Linked DNA regions of Homo sapiens: all the other regions are linked to region 1. The links are contacts of gene promoters, found by promoter capture Hi-C in blood cells and fetal thymus (Javierre and others, 2016). All regions are on one chromosome and are shown on one strand. Each heading gives the region's core, a stretch centred on a gene start or on the middle of the fragment in contact. The rest is flanking DNA. Distances are from core to core; before and after follow the strand shown.

Region 1 (2,628 bases), core at 97-2,596:
TGTCCATGGAGATGGATAAGGTGTCATTATATAGTAGAGGTGACCATGGGAGCAGTGTTGATGTGGAGGTAATGGTCATGGTGGGTGTGAGGGGGAGAGTAATTATGGGTGATGGTGGAGTTGATCATGATGATGGTGATGCTGGTGGTGACAGCAGCAAGGCTTGTGCTTGAGAGTAATTGATGATGGTAGTGGTGGTGGTGATGGTCATGCCAGAGGAGATGGTAACAGCGAGCCTTTGTTGTGGTTGGCAGTGATGGTGCAGGTATGATGAGGAGGTGATGGGAATGGCTCCTAGTGAGCCATTGGTGTGGTTGGCAGTGGTGACAGTAATGGTGATGATGAAGGTGAAGGTGGTGGAGGTAGCAGAGGTTGTATCTTGTTCGGCTATACCACAGTGACAGCTTCCACCTCTCAGTGGCTCACGACAAACATCTAGTTCCCCCCACTTCACTCACTGGTGCCTACAGGCAGCTGCCAGGGCCCCACCTCCCATAGCTTCTCACTGTGGGTCCCAGGCTGGAGAATCAGCTCTGACCTGCACACCCCTCTCTCATGACAGTGCCACTCAGAGACAGCAGGAACTTGGGCTGCCTCTGAAAGCTTCTGTTGGGCCATGATGTGTGGCAGTCTTGCTGCATCCCATGGTCAAGGCCAGTATCCATGGGGCAAAGAATGTTTCCTTCAGGAAGGTTCTGCAAATCTCAGGGCAATAGGAAGAGAGGCCTGAGATTCCCATGGGGAAGAGGGAGTGAGCAGTTCTCCAACATATGCCAGATGCTCAAGATGGGACTGACAGCGGGGCTGGTAACGATGGCTCTGCTGGGAGCAGTGTTGGTGCTGCTGGTGCCGGGGACACCCGTGGTGGTGATGGGATAGGAGGCAGGAATTGTGCTATTAATGGAGGATGGTGGTGAGGGTGGTTGTGGAAGAGGCAATGGTAGAGGGGGGTGCCGAGGGGTGAGAAGGACACAGTGGTGGACATGCTGGTGTGAGTGCCGATGGCGATGGTGATGGCACTGAGGTGTGGGGCTCTGTATTTTCTGTTGCTAACTTGGCATTACACCAACCTCTTCCATGGTCTCCTTGCATCCTGGAGAAATCTGAGGGATTTTCCAGAATCCCATCACCGGTATAATTCCAGACTAGAGCCTGCCAATACAAGGGATTTGGAGAGTGGAAAAGAGAGGCCGTTGCAGGCAGGTGACAATGGTGAGCTTTGCAACAGCTCGGGGCAATCTTCTGCGAAGACCCTGCTTCTGAGCCACAGGCTGAGGCATGGATGGGGAGCTTCCTGGAATACCGTGAGCTCCTCAGCAGCTCCCAGGCAAGCTCTAGAGAGCCGCTCACCTGGGAGCTGCAGGTGAGCATCTCGATTCCTTGTTCCCTGACCGCTGGTCCCAGACTGTTCAGGGTGCAGCGTGTAGTAAATGTCCTCCTCCTTGGTACACATTTGAGGGCTGTGTACTGTGAGGGTGATGGCGGCTCAGATGAAGGTGGTGGTTGTGATGGAGTTGGGTGTGAGGATAGCAGAGAGAAAGCAGATGGTGACATCAGGAAGGCATTGGAGGGGCAGTGGTGGTGGCAGTGATGATGGTGGCAGTCTAATTAGAGGCAGTGGTGGGTCTGGCTGAGGCAGACCCGGTGGTGGTGATGGTGGTGGTAGTAGAGGGGGCAATGACGGTGGTGATGGCAAAGGCGGTGTGAGTGGTTGATACTGGTGGCAGAGCTGATAAGGTGATGTCACAGATGGGATGGTGGGTGGAGATGGAGGTGGAGGAAGTGTGGTGACAGTGATGTGGTGGTGACACAATGCTGACACGGGTGGAGAGCACCGTGGTGACGGTGACAGAGATGATAGTGATAGTGGGGCTGGTGGCAGTGGTAGAGGAGATGGGGATGGGACGCTGGGGTGTTGATGGTGATGGTGACACTGCTGAGGGTGTTGGTGGCCTGACATTGTAAAGGTGAAGCCTGAAGTTTCCATGACGATGGAATCAGGACAGTGGAGGAGGGGTGGTGAAAACAATGTTAAGAGACAAAGGACCTAGTATGATGAGGCATCCAAGAATCCTGTGGCCGCCTCCCCGTCCTGGCCCTCCCTGCCTTGTTGGAGACCCTGGCTCTGGTCTGCGTTGTACTCCCAGGGGAAATTTCTTCCAGCCACTGCCCTGCTCCAACCCTTGTTCCTGGGATGGGTCTGTGGGAGTCAGCCAGGATGGAGACAGGGCTGGAGACCCCCTCACTGCCGCCCATTCAGGGCTGTCTTAGGGCACACAGAACAGACCACTCGGTAGGACTTACGGGAACAGGTGTGTCACCTGGGAGCAGGTCCCACACCTCACCATCAAGGGCATCCTGAGATGGAGGCCCCTGTGGGGAGCTCCCCATGAAGGGAGCTGTGGACCGTGGAGCCGGGCAGTGTGCAGAGGAGTTTCCCTTCTGCAAAGGGTTCAGGCTAGTCTCCTTCCACGCCAGTTTTTGGGGAGCCAGTGGGGAGCATCAGGGGCTCTGAGGCCTCCATAGGGCCTGCTGGAGGGACAGGGACACACAGGCATGAGCGCACACTTAGGCCCCACACGCTCCACCGTCAATTCTGTCAGGCCACCTCCCCTCTTCAAGCCTCTC
Region 2 (2,628 bases), core at 53-2,552, 380 kb before region 1:
CCAAACATTCATATATAAACAAATTATATAGTATAATATACAGTATATACTATATTATAGTATATACTAATTATACTCTATAGTATAATATATAGTATATACTAATTATGCCCTATAGTATAATATATAGTGTATACTAATTATACTCTATAGTATAATTTTACAAATTATACTAAGTATGCAAGTTTTTTTTGTTTTTTTTCATGTTGCTTCAGTCTCCTTGTTTTGTTTTGTTTTTGAGACTGGGTCTTGTTCTGTGGCCCAGGCTGGAGTGCAGTGGCATGATTCTAGCTCACTGCAGCCCTGGACTCCTGGGCTCAAGGGCTCCTCCCACCTCAGCCTCCCGAGTAGCTTGGAGTACAGGCGTGAGCTACTGCACCTGGCTTGCAACAGTCTTAATAATTATGTTTAATATTTACTTAACAATCCATTAAATATTTTACTTAACCCAAATTGTTGAGCATTTAGGTAGTTTCCAATTGTTGCTATTATTTTTATTGATATTTTGATAATTTGATGCATACAGCCATAAGCATTTCCTTAGCAACTGTTGTAGTGCTTGACAGAACCCTGAATAGCTACTTGAATGAATAACTATCCTAATTTATAGAGCTACACATGAGTTATCTAATCTCACAGGATCATAGCACTACCGAGTATTCTCATTCTGAAATATTTTGCTATTTCAACAGTTTAGAAAAAGAGGGAAAGGTAACACCTTAAGTTTGCATTTCTTTGATTACTAATGAGGCATTTGAATGTATTCCCTTATATATATTATTTTACTTCTTTTTGAGAAGGGTCCAATCCCATCTTTTGCCTATTTTTCTCTTGAACCCTTAGCCAAGCCATAGGAATAACACCCCAGGGAGGAACCTTGCCAACCCACCAGACCCTGAGGTGCCCTGCGCAGCCACTGGTGGCACATGGGGCCAGCCTTCAGCTAGTGTTTGGAGGGCCCAAGTGCTGTAGGCTTCTGCCTTGGCCTCTGGGGGTCCTAACAGCAGAAAGGCTACACTTCTGGCATTCTTAAACTTGTGCAGGATTGTACAGTCTATGGTTATAAGTAATCAATATAACAAAGAATTAGTCATGTCAACTGGATTTGTTAGTATCTGAATATTTGGTTTCAAAAACAAGTAAGCATGCTAAAAATTTAACTTTAGTAAAAATAAAATCTACCTGTTTAAATTCTATCCAGTTGAGGTATAAAAATGCATATTTATGACTGCAAAAATAAAATGCAAACAAAATACATGCTAGCACAGGATGAACCCTGAAAACATGCAAAGTGAAATAAGTCACCGACAAAAGAACAAATATTTTCTGGTTTCTTTATAGGAAATATCTATAGTAGGCAAATTCATAGAGACAGAAATTAGCCAGGCCTGGTGGTGTATGCCTGTAATCCCAGCTACTCCGGAAGCTAAGGCATGAGAATCGCTTGAGCCCAGGAGGAAGAGGTTGCAGTGAGCCAAGACTATGCCACTGCACTCCAGCCTGGGTGACAGAGTGAGACCCTATCTCAAAAAAAAAAAAAAAAAAAAAAAAAAAAAAACACAGAAATAAATGAGACGTTACCAGGATCTAAGGGGAGGAAGGGTTGGGACTTCATGCTTAATGGTTACAGAGTTTCTGTTTTTGAGGTGATGAAAAAGTTTTGGAAATAGTGGTGATGGTTTTAGAAATAGTGGCGATGGTCATGCCACCCTGTGAATGTCATTAATGCCAATGAATTGTATGCTTAAAAATGGTTAAAATGGCAAATTTTATGTTACACACATTTTACCACAATAAAAACAATTCAAAAAGAGAATAAAATGCTACATTAATGAATTGTTAAATCTAATGTAAAAAAATTAAAATCAGCCGGGCGCAGTGGCTCACGCCTGTAATCCCAGCACTTTGGGAGGCCAAGGCGGGCAGATCACGAGGTCAGGAGATTGAGACCACGGTGAAACCCCGTCTCTACTAAAAATACAAAAAATTAGCCGGGCGTGGTGGCGGGCGCCTGTAGTCCCAGCTACTTGGGAGGCTGAGGCAGGAGAATGGCGTGAACCCGGGAGGCGGAGCTTGCAGTGTACCGAGATCGTGTCACTGCACTCCAGCCTGGGTGACAGAGTGAGACTCCGTCTCAAAACAAAAAAAAATTAAAATCTTCAAAGTAAATATGGAAACAAACTAATAGGAAATACAAGTATTAAGTTAACTTTAGAGAAAACTTATCTTTTTCCAGCAACGAATGTCTTTTTAAAATTAAGAAGAATTATAAAGATGAAATTCTATCATGATTCAAATCTCAGTATTTGGTGTGCCTGGAACCTTCACATTAAGCAAAATAACCTTTTAAAACTACATTTAATTTTTAGTTTTTTAATTCTATTTAGGCCATAAGTGTTTTTTAAGTCTTATTTGAGAATTCTTTTGGTAATTTTGAGGAAATCCTAAGATCTCAATTTTGCCACATTAAAATATCCCAAGGACAAAAATATCCAAAATTCTACACCACCCATGATAAATCACAACAAACATAAAAAGTTTAAAGAAGAAAAGGTTAGAGAAAAATAAAGTACTCCCAAATCAAACTTCACAAGAACAGAATTTATAGAAATGCATTAATAACATTTC
Region 3 (2,628 bases), core at 51-2,550, 300 kb before region 1:
AGTCGTGCTAGGAATAGAAAATAATGCAAAGACTCTGGCTTCTTGAGGCAAATATTTTGCTGGAAGGTTATAATCAAAGTCAGAAGGAAATCATAGCCACAGCTTTCGGTAAAGCTGTAATCATTTAAAATTAATTGCTTTTAAACTTTTCACTGAGCATCCCCTTTGTTTTCTATCAGCATGTCTCTTGGGTTTTTCTTCGGAATCATTCCATCCAGGTTGGAATAGGATTCGGGCAGGCATCCCAGGAAACAACCCATAAATTAAGCCCTAAGACATATTCCCCTTTCTGTCATTCTTTTGTTTGATGGAGCCTCAACCAGGCTGGGGATGAGATACTCTTACCTTAAGAGCTCAATTCTGTGTCCCCTTTACCAGTAAAGGCTTTGATGTGCGGAAAATGATGGTATCTATAGCTCTGGTACTCTGGGTATCTTGGAGGCCCAGTCTTGGTGGGGGTAGAGCCTGGCACTTCTGAGGCAGCCTCATGGTAGGATAGGGAGCTGGAGTGAGTCCTCGTTCTTCTAGGCTCTGGACTTGGTTGCACAGCATGCATCCCTCTTGGTGTGAACACTTCACTCCAATGGCTGGTTTCCATGTCTCCTCTTTCCATTAGCCTGGAAGCTTGATGGGGTAGAGACAATATCTGAATCATCTCTGTAGGTCTAGGGCCAACCCAGAGCCTGGCATACAGCAGATAATAATTTTAAAAACATTTTTAATTTTATATAGTGTTTATATAATTTTTTAAAATAATTTTATGGTATGTAAATTACATACCATAAAATTCACCCATTTCACTGAGTGTACACTAAGTGAACACTCAGTGGTTTTCACTGTACTCATACAGTTGTGTAGCTGTCATCACACAATCTCAGTTTAGACCATTTTCGTCACCCCATAAAGAAACCACATCCCTACCAGGAGTCATTCCCCATTCGCCCCTCTCCCAGGCCTAGGCAACCACGAATCTACTTAATGTCTCTGGATTGACCGGTCCTGGACATTTCATATAAGTAGATCACACAATATGTGGCCTTTTTGTCTGGCGACTTTTGCTTGGCCTCCTATGTTGCCCAGGCTGGTCTTGAACTCCTGAAGTTAAGCAGTCCTCTTGCCTCAGCCTCCCAAAGCGAGCATATGCTTTGGGAACCAGTATTGCATTTTTTTGTGAAAAAAAAAAAAAACAAAACTATTTCTATTGATTTCTACTTGTGGTAAAGTATAAATAATGTACAATTTGCCATCTTAGCCATCTTAAGTGTACAGTGTGTGGCATGTGCTCCTCAGGCTGCCTCCTCTTTCTGTGATGTGCCTGGCCCATGGAGACATTTGGGCTGGTAGGCCTTGTTTTAAGGGCTTTCGGCAGCTTGTGTGGTGGGAAAGGACCACATGGAGCTGCATTTGGTGTTTTTCTCCACTCACTCAGAGATTCTACACATACACGTTGCATGGCTTTGTTTTGGACGTGAGGGCAGATACACAGTCGTGCCTGTGTTCAAGGGGCTCACAGTCCCGAGTAGGGAGGAGGAAGCCAGGCAGTGCCAGCAGCCAGTTTAAGATGTGGAGTGGTAAGGGCTTTGATCGAGATGGGCATAGAAATGTGAGTACCTGCCTGGGGTGGCAGATAGGGAATCCTGCTGGAGGAGACACACGGCTGGGCCTGGAAGGATGACCTGTGGATTTCCAGGCTGAGAGATCCAGGAAACAGCCTTAGCAGAGTCCAGAGGCATGGAAGCAGCCCTGGCTAAAGAAGGGGAGTGGTCAGGGTGGCTGGCACTTGCACACAGGGGGGTGTGAAAGGAGGTGCGGCCAGGTTGGCTGGGTCACAGGCCAGTCCAACTGGCTTGTGGGAATTGTGAAGGATGGTTGAGATATTACATTTTAGAAGATGGGAGGCATTCCAGCTAGAGGACTCAGAGTAAACAAGGACCTAGAGACAAAGGGAGGGCTGGAGTGTGACTGGGGTATCAGGCCAAGCTTCCAGAGGGTAGCCCGGACCAGATCTCAGGAGCCGGGAGAGTCTCTTCTGGGAGGAAGGCTGGTAGGTTTTAAGCTTCTGGTGGCTTTTAGTGAGCTCCCTGAGTCTGAGGAGAGGACTGTGACAAGTGGTCCTAGGGCCTGTCATTCCTCTCATCATTCCAGCTTCAGCTTTCTGACCCAGCTGGATGAAGGAGAAGAGGAAGGACACCTCAGGCAGGCAAGGCGGATGCCATCAGCAGGGAAAGTGGGGCTCTGGGGTTGCAGACATGGCAGTGCTGAGCAGTGGCCAAGGGATAGTTCTGCCTCTTGGAGGGAGATGAAAGAATGGACTTTTGGAGAACGCTTGCTGTCTGCTGGACACTGTTCTAGACCCGTGGCTCTTGCTGCATCCTCCCAGCCAGTCTCCTAGGGAGGCGTTTCCATCTACATTGCTCAGCTACTAGAAATGAGGCTCTGAGCAGTAGGCAGTTTGCTGCAGGGCGCACAAGTAGCCAGTGCCAGGCTCTGTTTCAGAGGCCCTGGCTTTGCCCAGAAGCTGCTCTCAGACCTTAGCACATGCCTGCTTCCATAGAAAATTGTGGCTCCTGAGGAACACTTTATATATAAATCAAATTGTCAAAAATAGAGATTTCTGCTTCTATTCTC
Region 4 (2,628 bases), core at 77-2,576, 260 kb before region 1:
CTGTAGATCTTCTTTTGTGAAGCAGCTTTCAAATCTTTTGCCTATTTTTTATTAGATTTTAAAAAATTATTTTGTTGTTGAGTTATAGGAGTTCTTTAACCTACTTATCAGTCCTTTGTCAGATATATGTGTCGTGAATACCTTCTGACAATTTATGGCTTACCTATTTGTTTTCTTAATGGTGTCTTTTGATAACCAAAAGTTTTGATGAAGTCTAATTTATCACTTTTTTCTGTTGTAGTTACTGCTTTCTATGTTCTAAGTAACTTTGCTTACCACCAAGTTATGAAGACATTCTACTCAGTTTCCTTCTAAAAAGCTTAATGACATTAGCGTTTGCATTTAGTCCTGTAATCTATCTTGAATTAGTTTTTGTATGTGGTGTGAGATGGGGGTCAAAGTAGATTTTTTTCCGTATGGCTATTCATTTATTCCAGTGCATCATTTCTTGAAAAGTTTTTTAGATTGTTTTGTTGCCTTTGTGAAAAATCACATAACCATTTAAGTGTAGGTCTATTTCTGGACTCTATTGTACTTTGATTTGTTTGTCTGTCTTCACACCAATATCGCACTGTCTTTATTAGTAGCTTTATAAAGTAAGTTTTGAAGTCAAGTAGTGTAAGTCCTCCAACTTTGTTCTTTTCCAGTATTGCTTTGAATATTCTTGATCCTTTGTAGTTCCATATAAATTTTAGAAGCAGCTTTTCAATTTCTACAAAAAAAATAAATCCTGGGATTATGATTGGGATTACATTGAATCTATACTATAGCTCAATCGAGGGAAAACTGACTCTTAACAATATTGAGTTTTCCAATCTATGAACTTAGCACATCTCTTCACTTATGTATTTTTAAGTTTTTAGTATAGAGGTCTTGTACATATGTTGTTAAATTTATTTCTAAGTATTTTATGTATTTTGATGCTATCATAAATGATATTTTTAATTTGTTGCTAATATATTAACATAATTAGTTTATGTATATTCATCTTGTATCTTGCAACCTTGCTAAACCTTCTTATTAGTCCTAGTGGTTGTTTTATAGACTCCTTAGGATTTCCTACATAAAAAATCATGTCAGCTAAGAATAAAGATAGTTTTACTTCTTTGTTTCTACTCTTTATACCTTTTTCTAACCTTTATGTTCTTTTTCTTAACTTATTACACTGGCTACAACTTCCAGTAAAATGTTGAGTAGAAGTGGTGAGAGTGGACATCCTTGCCTCGTTCTGATCATGGTGACAAATCATTTCATATTTCTCTAGTAAGTATGGTGTTAGCTGTGGGTTTTTCCATACACATCCTTTACTGTGTTGAGGAAATTCCTCCTGTTCCTAGTGTGGTGAATGGTTTTATCAGGAGTGGTTGTTAAATTTTGTCAAGTGCTTTTTCTGCATCCACTGAAATGATTTTATAGTTTTTCTTCTTCATTCCGTTAGTGTGGGGAATTATACTGATTGATTTTTTTGAATATTAAACATAAAAAGCTATAAATTTCCCTCTAAACATTACCTCAGCCTCACCCAATATATTTTTTAACATGGTTTTAACATGTTCATGTAGATTTTTATTTTCCAGGAATGGATTATTTGGCCCATGGATCAATCAGTTGGTAGAATACAGATTGTAGATAGTATAAATGAATGGTTACACCCAAATGTTGGCAATTTGAGACAATTTGTGAAACAGCAGGAATGGCAAAGTCTTTGTTTCATCAGCAACTTCCTAATGGAATTTGTTGACGGAAGTGATTTGATTTTTATCCATTTAGTGATGCTTATATCATGGCAAAGTCCAAGCCATTCACATTTCCCTTCAGGTGTGTTCTAATTCATGATCTTAAATCATGATAGGCTATTTCCTTAAAGTGATGTCATTGTTTCCACCTGGGCAGAGGAAGATGATGAGTGTTGGCGATGGCAGAGGAAGGGGATGGACACAAGTCCAGGAATAAGGAAGGCAAATGTCAGCCAGCACTGTCAGCCACCTCCCTTGTGTGCGGGCACTGGGCTAGATCACCTGCATGTGTTAGGTGTGAGTCCACAGCACTGAGGAGATGGAGGTCTGTAGGAAGTAAATCATCTGCTGCAGGTGACATGAGTAGGGGCAGAAACGAGGCTGGAGCCAGGTCTGCTAGCCCTCAAAGCTGGTGGACTTTTCCCAGGCAGTATCTACCTTTTTTTATCATGCAACATGAGGATATCTACATTTTGGAGTGAGTGTGAGCTTTGAGGATAAAGTTGTAACAGAAGTTTCCAGGATAATCCATTAATTGATACCACCTATCTTATTGATTTAATAATTGAGCCACTGTTATACTTGGCCAGTTGAATATCAAGCTTGGCATTCCATTAGATAGGAAACCTGGTTTTGGAATAAATCAATAATCCCAGGAATTCTTAACAGGAAACATGGTTACCAAATGTAAATGAAACACTAGAGTTATTTATAGGAGTATTGTATTAGATAGTTCTCTAAGTGGGCTGCAAAGCAGCTCTGTGAAGTGAGTCCTATTTTCTCAGTGACTTGCATATTCTAAGATTAAGTGATGTATTCCCAAGGAACAAGTCCTTTGTAAACAGTGGTTAACTTTTGTAAGGAAGGAATATAGAAGATTCTGGACAGTGTC

Evidence for each region. Contacts are between HindIII fragments. The CHiCAGO score rates a contact against its expected background, and 5 or more counts as called.
Region 2: a contact is called between a fragment that was not itself captured here and the fragment with the promoter of DNAJB8 in region 1, in 1 of 17 cell types (fetal thymus). The highest score is 5.3, in fetal thymus.
Region 3: a fragment that was not itself captured here is called in contact with the fragment with the promoter of DNAJB8 in region 1 in 3 of 17 cell types (endothelial precursors, megakaryocytes and erythroblasts); the score reaches 7.9 in endothelial precursors.
Region 4: a fragment that was not itself captured here is called in contact with the fragment with the promoter of DNAJB8 in region 1 in 1 of 17 cell types (endothelial precursors); the score reaches 6.7 in endothelial precursors.

Annotation. Positions count from the first base shown.
Region 1 is chr3:128,465,544-128,468,171 of GRCh38, forward strand. DNAJB8 (DnaJ heat shock protein family (Hsp40) member B8) reads right to left here and starts at 1,347. Exons shown (of 3, transcript NM_153330.6): 1 at 1,071-1,347. All of the region lies in intron 2 of DNAJB8-AS1 (DNAJB8 antisense RNA 1), which reads left to right. The HindIII fragment of the contact is 7,883 bases long and covers 602-2,628 here.
Region 2 is chr3:128,088,383-128,091,010 of GRCh38, forward strand. The region is part of intron 8 of RUVBL1 (RuvB like AAA ATPase 1); the gene reads right to left. Among named protein-coding and RNA genes, the nearest start is that of RUVBL1-AS1, 14 kb to the left of the region's middle. The HindIII fragment of the contact is 4,504 bases long and covers 1-2,628 here.
Region 3 is chr3:128,162,766-128,165,393 of GRCh38, forward strand. All of the region lies in intron 1 of EEFSEC (eukaryotic elongation factor, selenocysteine-tRNA specific), which reads left to right. Among named protein-coding and RNA genes, the nearest start is that of EEFSEC, 11 kb to the left of the region's middle. The HindIII fragment of the contact is 1,356 bases long and covers 623-1,978 here.
Region 4 is chr3:128,201,502-128,204,129 of GRCh38, forward strand. The region is part of intron 1 of EEFSEC (eukaryotic elongation factor, selenocysteine-tRNA specific); the gene reads left to right. Among named protein-coding and RNA genes, the nearest start is that of EEFSEC, 49 kb to the left of the region's middle. The HindIII fragment of the contact is 2,019 bases long and covers 318-2,336 here.